2 separate regions of the Homo sapiens genome follow, and region 1 is linked to region 2. The links are contacts of gene promoters, found by promoter capture Hi-C in blood cells and fetal thymus (Javierre and others, 2016). All regions are on one chromosome and are shown on one strand. Each heading gives the region's core, a stretch centred on a gene start or on the middle of the fragment in contact. The rest is flanking DNA. Distances are from core to core; before and after follow the strand shown. Region 1 has its middle 3.4 kb from the start of SP1. Region 2 holds the start of PFDN5 (prefoldin subunit 5).

What was found. The method cuts DNA at HindIII sites, captures the fragments that hold promoters and counts their contacts. A CHiCAGO score of 5 or more calls a contact.
Region 1: a fragment that was not itself captured here is called in contact with the fragment with the promoter of PFDN5 in region 2 in 8 of 17 cell types (erythroblasts, fetal thymus, M2 macrophages and 5 more); the score reaches 8.3 in erythroblasts.

Annotation. Positions count from the first base shown.
Region 1 is chr12:53,375,090-53,378,476 of GRCh38, reverse strand. No RefSeq gene overlaps it. Among named protein-coding and RNA genes, the nearest start is that of SP1, 3.4 kb to the left of the region's middle. The HindIII fragment of the contact is 5,800 bases long and covers 1-3,387 here.
Region 2 is chr12:53,293,732-53,296,947 of GRCh38, reverse strand. PFDN5 (prefoldin subunit 5) reads right to left here and starts at 1,406. Exons shown (of 6, transcript NM_002624.4): 1 at 1,309-1,406; 2 at 1,007-1,109; 3 at 673-704. The coding sequence starts at 1,380. RefSeq lists enhancers at 499-1,698, 1,184-1,723. The HindIII fragment of the contact is 3,517 bases long and covers 1-1,962 here.

The DNA.
Region 1 (3,387 bases), core at 272-2,771, 81 kb before region 2:
AAACTGCCGCCGGGCGCAATGGCTCAGACCTGTAATCCCAGCACTATGGGAGGCCGAGGCGGGCGGATCGCTTGAGCCCAGGAGTTAAAGACCAGCCTGGGCAACATGGTGAAACCCCGTCTCCACAAAAAATAACAAAAATTAGCCAGACGTGGTGATGTGCGCCAGTAGTCCCAGCTACTCGGGAGGCTGGGGTGGAAGAATCGCTTGAACCCAGGAGGTTGAGGCTGCAGTGAGCTCAAATCCTGCCACTGCACTCCAGCCAGGACAACAAAGCAAGACCTTGCTCCAAAATAAGTAAATATATAGACTGGGCGCGGTGGCTCATGCCTGTAATCCCAGCATTTTGGGAGGCCGAGGCAGGCGGATCACCTGAGGTCAGGAGTTCAAGACCAGCTTGACCAACATGGAGAAACCCCGTCTCTACTAAAAATATAAAACTAGCCAGGCATGGTGGGACATGTCTGTAATCCCAGCCACTTGGGAGGCTGAGGCAGGAGAATCGCTTGAATCCAGGAGGCAGAAGTTGTAGTGAGCCAAGATCGTGCCATTGCACTCGGGCCTGGGCAACGACAGTGAAACTCCATCTCAAAGAAAAAAAAAAAAGTAAATATATAGATGCTTTTTAATTTTTACTGTCTAGCTCCTGAAAAAAAAAAAAAAAAGCCTACTCCCAGGACGGATCAAATGGCATCATCCTCTTAGATACCTTTATTATAAAATTTATCAGAATACATGACAATTAATTTCATCTCTCACTGTATCAAGGTTTCTCAAAATGAAATGTCACACACTCTCAGAATCCTCTGGGTTCTTTTTTCAAAAAAGGCAGATTCCTAGATTTCCACCCTAAACCTATTTTTAAGTAGCTCTTTCAAGTGATTAGGCCCTAAACCTAGTTTAAAACACACCAAGAAGGCTGGGCGCAGTGGCTCATGCCTGTAATCCCAGCATTTTGGCAGGCAGAGGCGGGCAGATCACTGGAGGTCAGGAGTTCGAGACCAGCCTGACCAACATGGTGAAACCCCATCTCTACTAAAAATACAAAAATTAGTCGGGCGTGGTGGTGCATGCCTATAGTCCCAGCTACTCGGAAGGCTGAAGCAGGAAAATCGCTTGAACCTAGAGGCGGAGGTTGCAGTGACCGGGGATCATGCCACTGCACTCCAGCCTGGGCGACAGAGCAAGATTTGGTCTCAAAGAAAAGAAAAGAAAACAAAACAAAACAAAAACACCAAGAGAAGAAACTGGGGAAAAGAAACTTCCAGAAAGGGAGAAATTTCCTGGAAGGAAGAAACTGCATTACTCATCTTTGTAAACCAAGCTCTGAAGATTCTAATAGCTGTTTAGTCCATTCAGCAACTGTCCATACCTAAACTTGCTTAGGGGTGGAGGTAGGGAGAGGAAACTTAACACCGTGGAGGAGTATTCTAAACATTTCACATATTTATCTAATTTAATTATTCCTACCAATTTAAGAGATAGTTGTCCCCTTTTACAGATGAGAAAACTGAGGCTCAGATATTTTAGTTAAATTATGACTGTTCTGTTTAGTTCCAAAGCCTGTGTTTTTTCCATAGTCCTAGACTACACCCGAATTGGGAATTAGGATAAAATTAAACTGACAAAAAGACCTAAATTCAGAAATTCAATAGCCATCATCCTTTTTACAATCCTTTCCCCTTTGCTCCTCCAGAAGAAGACAATTCAGCATGAGGCCAGTGAGGAATGCCCTAGACGTATACTAGTTTATTGATAGTCCCTGAGAGCAAATGAATGACATGATCCATCTTGTCCAATTGCTCTGTAAAAACCTGAAAAAGTGTTCTTTAGACTGAAAAAAAAAAACAAAAACAAAAAAACCAACTTATATCAAGGCTATTCAGATCCCTTACATGCACACACGCAGTGTCTATCTTTTCTTTTTTTTTTTTGAGAGTCTCACTCTGTCTCCAAGCCTGGAGTGCAGTGGTGCGATCTCAGCTCACTGCAACCTCTGCCGCCCAGGTTCAAGTGATTCTCCTGCCTCAGCCTCCCAAGTAGCTAGGATTACAGGTGCACGCCACTATGCCTGGCTAATTTTTGTATCTTAGTAGAGATGAGATTTCATCATGTTGGCCAGGCTGATCTCAAACTCCTGACCTCAGGTGATCCTCTGCCCACCTCGGCCTCCCAAAGTGCTGGGATTACAGGTGTGAGCCACTGCGCCCGGCAATTTTTTTTTTTCCTGAGACGGAGTCTTGCCCTGTTTCCCAGGCTGGAGTGCAGTGGCGCGACTTTGGCTCACTGCAACCTCTGCCTTTCAGATTGAAGCAATTCTTTCTGCCTCAGCGTCCCTTGTAGCTGGGACTACAGACATGTGCCACCATGCCTGGCTAATTTTTGTATTTTTAGTAGAGACAGGGTTTCACCATGTTAGCCAGGCTGATCTTGAACTCCTGACCTGAGTTGATCTGCCCGCCTCAGCCTCCCAAAGTGCTGCGATTACAGGTGTGAGGCACTGCACCTGGCTACCTGGTTAACTTTTTGATGTTTTGTTGAGATCTCATTATGTGGCCCAGTTGGTGTTGAACTCCTGAGCTCAATCCCAAAGTGCTGGGATTACAAGCACGAGCCACCATGCCCTGCTTAAAATTCGTATCTTTTTTTTTTCTATACAGAGTCTCGCTCTATGGCCCACACTGGAGTGCAGTGGCGCGATCTCGGCTCACTGCAAGCTCTGCCTCCCGGGTTCACGCTATTCTCCTGCTTCAGCCTACTGAGTAGCTGGGACTACAGGCACCCATCACCACGCCTGGCTAATTTTTTGTATTTTTAGTAGAGACGGGGTTTCACCATGTTAGCCAGGATGGTCTCGATTTCTTGACCTCGTGATCCGCCCACCTCGGCCTCCCAAAGTGCTGGGATTACAGGCATGAGCCACCGGGCCCAACCATTTTTTTTTGTTGGGGGTACAGGGTCTCGCTCTGTTGCCAGGCTGGAGTGCAGTGGCGTGATCTTGGCTCACTGCAACCTCCGCCTCCTGGGCTCAAGCGATTCTCCTGCCTCAGCCTCCCAAGTAGCTGGGACTACAGGCGCACGCCACCACACCCAGCTAATTTTGGTATTTTTAGTAGAGACAGGTTTTCACCATGTTGGCCAGGATGGTCTTGATCTCTTGACCTTGTGATCCACCTGCCTTGGCCTCCCAAAGTGCTGGGATTACAGGCGTGAGCCACTGCACCCGGCCAAATTCATATCTTTTATAAGAATGACTTCTATGAAGCCTTTCCTACCCCCCTCAGTTATTGAATACACTGGCCACTGTGCTCCTTTTATTTGCCACCATTAGAGGTATCTAAGTATCCTGTCTCCCCAACTACATTAAGCGATTTGAGGGCAGGGATG
Region 2 (3,216 bases), core at 157-2,656:
TAACAGAGCCAAGCTCCCTGTTTCTATATCCTCCTATTTTTGTCTATTGCCTGTATCTTCTAAGATATTAGCAAAGTGTAAACCACCAGCTTTATCTCCATATTAATGTTCTCAAACAGCAAAGGGAAATATTACATCTCAACTATACATACTCCTTGGTGTTCACAAGACATTAGCTGGATGTTGGTGTGAAGTCAGATAAAAGAGCTACAAAGTGTGTAATAAGAGTATTCTTGGCCGGGGGCAGTGGCTCACGCCTGTAATGTAATCCTAGCACTTTGGGAGGCCGAGGCAGGCGGATCACGAGGTCAGGAGTTCGAGACTAGCCTGGCCAATATGGTGAAACCCCCAACTCTACTATTAATACAAAAATTAGCCGGTCGTGGTGGCGCGTACCTAAAGTCCCAGCTACTCGGGAGACTGAGGCAGAAGAATCTCTTGAACTCGGGAGGCGGAGGTTGCAGTAAGCCAAGATCTCACCATTGCGCTCCAGCCTGGGCGACAGAGCGAAATTCCGTCTCAAAAAAGAAAGAAAAAAAAAAAGGGTATCCTCAAAATCATTGTGAGGAGAGGGTAATCTGAAGTAATCAAAACAATCCCCCTCCCCGCTTTTTGGGGGAGTGAAGGAGAAAGGGAGAAGGCAGCAGGTAGCCGTTCCTGTGGAAAGGATACAGAACTCGTCAGTGGGACGAGTAATTCTTTCCCTGTGAAAGCAATGAAGACAAACACCTGGGGAAGGTTAGCGGCTCCAACGTAAGACGTTAAAGAGAGTTCCAACAGGGCACAGCACCCACAGACAGTGTGAAAAGAACGGAAACAGGGGCAATAGGAGCAGAGGAATGTCCTGTACTTTTCAATTCTAGGCAGGCAACATGCAAAGGGTTCATGAAGCGGTATACGATATGTAATGGATTTTCTCGTTTCAGGTAAGAAAAACTGGGTTAGGAGGTGGGACGAGAGAAGCAGGTTCGCCACTTTAGGTTACCCTCACCCGCCTACCCCATACCCTCGTTGCTCTTGTTCAGCACGTTCAGACAGTCCTTGGCTTCCACATACTTGGTCTGTACCACTTTGAGCTGAGCAATGGACGTGGACAAGAACTCCACTTCCTACAGAGGACCGGGATAGCGGGTCAATGAGAGGACTAAGGGGAGAAAGGAGCGCGGCCGGGGAGGGGGCAGGTCCTGGGATCGGATAGAGGTTTCGCCTGGGAAAGGTAGGCTGCCAACTTGGAACCGGGCGCGAGAAGTACGCGTGGGCAAGGGGGATGTAGAGCAGGAAAGAGGTGCCTCTGGGGCCCGTCCCCACCTGGTCCAGCTGGTTCTTGAGCATTTCTAGCTGCGGCAGATTCAGCTCCGTGATGTTAATAGACTGCGCCATGTTGGGAAGGCCGACTTAACGAAGAGGAAGTCTCTCGGCGAGCAACGCTCTAGCCGTCCTCTGCGCGTCTCGGTGGCGCCGGGAGGCCTCGCTGCGCCAGACAGCTCTATGATCCTCCGTCCCGGAAGGGAAGGAGGGGCTTGAGCCTCTCAGAGACTGTTGTGTGAGTTCATTTCATAAAATGTCTTAAGCCTAGTATTGTAAAGTAGCAGCAAACAGGACTCCTGCCTACAAGGAACTGCAAAATCTTAAAGTTCTCACGACACAACCACGATATTACAAAGTAGTGTATGCTACTCCACGTGGGTGGTATAAGCTACTGGAAAGCAGGCTGGATTGCCATGGCGACGGCTCGGGGGCCTGGCCCTGCTCCTCTCCACCCCGCTTGCTATTGCTGCCTGCTGGTACCCCGCCAGGCCCGATTTCAAATGTTCCTCCCAGCACGGCATGGAAATGGCAGGGAAATTCTAAACTCTTTTTCCCAGATGGCCTCTGAGGCCGAAAGGCAGGAAAAAAAAAAAAATCCCTTGTCAGACCGTTCTGAATTGTCCTTGGAAAAAAACAGGCATTAGATTGAAAGCTTGTCGAAGGCAGGAACCAACCATGTTCTCATCACTGAACCAATTCTTCCCCTCTCGCTATAACCATCTTCCCCCAGCCGGAAGTAGGCTGACACGTAGTAGGATCTGAAAAAGGGTTTATCACCCGTTGCCAGTGAGGTGGTGGGAGAACAGCAAGGAAGCGCCATTGTCAACCAAGTACAGCACAAATTAATCAATAAAATATTTTGGCCGGGCATGGTGGCTCACGCCTGCAATCCCAGCACTTTGGGAGGCCGAGAAGGACAGATTGCTTGAGCCCAGGAGTTTGAGACCAGCTTGGGCAACACGGCGACACCCCGTCTCCACAAAAAATACAAAAATTAGCCGGGCTGGTGGCACACGCCTGTAGTCCCAGCTACATGGGAGGCTGAGGTGGGAGGATCGCTTGAGCTGGAGAGTTGAGGCTGCAGTAGGCTGTGATTGTGCACACTAGCAACAGAGCTAGACTCTGTCTCAAAAAAAAAAAGGTTTTACCATGTGCTGTATGTGAGGGATACGTGAGAGTGTAAGATACTTGCTTCCCTTGAGCTTAACAATTGGAGAGAAAAACCACACTAGAACTCCACAGATCCACAGACTCTACTGCTAAAGTTACACATTGGTAAGTGTAACAGGTGTACATGGGCAGACAGCAGTAGCCTTTAACATCTACTTAGGAGGCAGGCAGGGCAACTGAGGCATTAAAACTAGTGCCATGGCTGGGCGCGGTGGCTCACGCCTGTAATCCCAGCACTTTGGGAGGCTGAGGAGGGTGGATCACAAGGTCAGGAGTTCGAGACCAGCCTGGCCAATATGGTGAAACCCTGTCTCTACTAAAAATGCAAAAATTAGTGGGACGTGGCGGCATGTGCCTGTAGTTCCAGCTACTCAGGAGGCTGAGGCAGGAGAATCGCTTGAACCCAGCAGGCAGAGGTTGCAGTGAGCCGAGATTGCGCCACTGCACTCCAGCATGGGCAACAGAGCAAGACTCTGTCTCAAAAAAAAACAAAAACAAAAAACAAAACACTAGTGCCACTCCAAAGATACCTGCGGCAGGAAGACAGGACGGACGGATGGTACCTGGCCAAAACACTCTCAAAGGGTCTATCACTACCCTTCCTTGGGCCTGTCTCTACTTAGCATTTTGATGCCCCTTTCTCCTCCAGATTTGTCTGCTGAGGCCCAGCCAGGCCCAGCAGGCTTTGTCCTGTGTCTTTGCCTTTCTTCCCCAAGCACTCAAACTTGATCTGCTGTA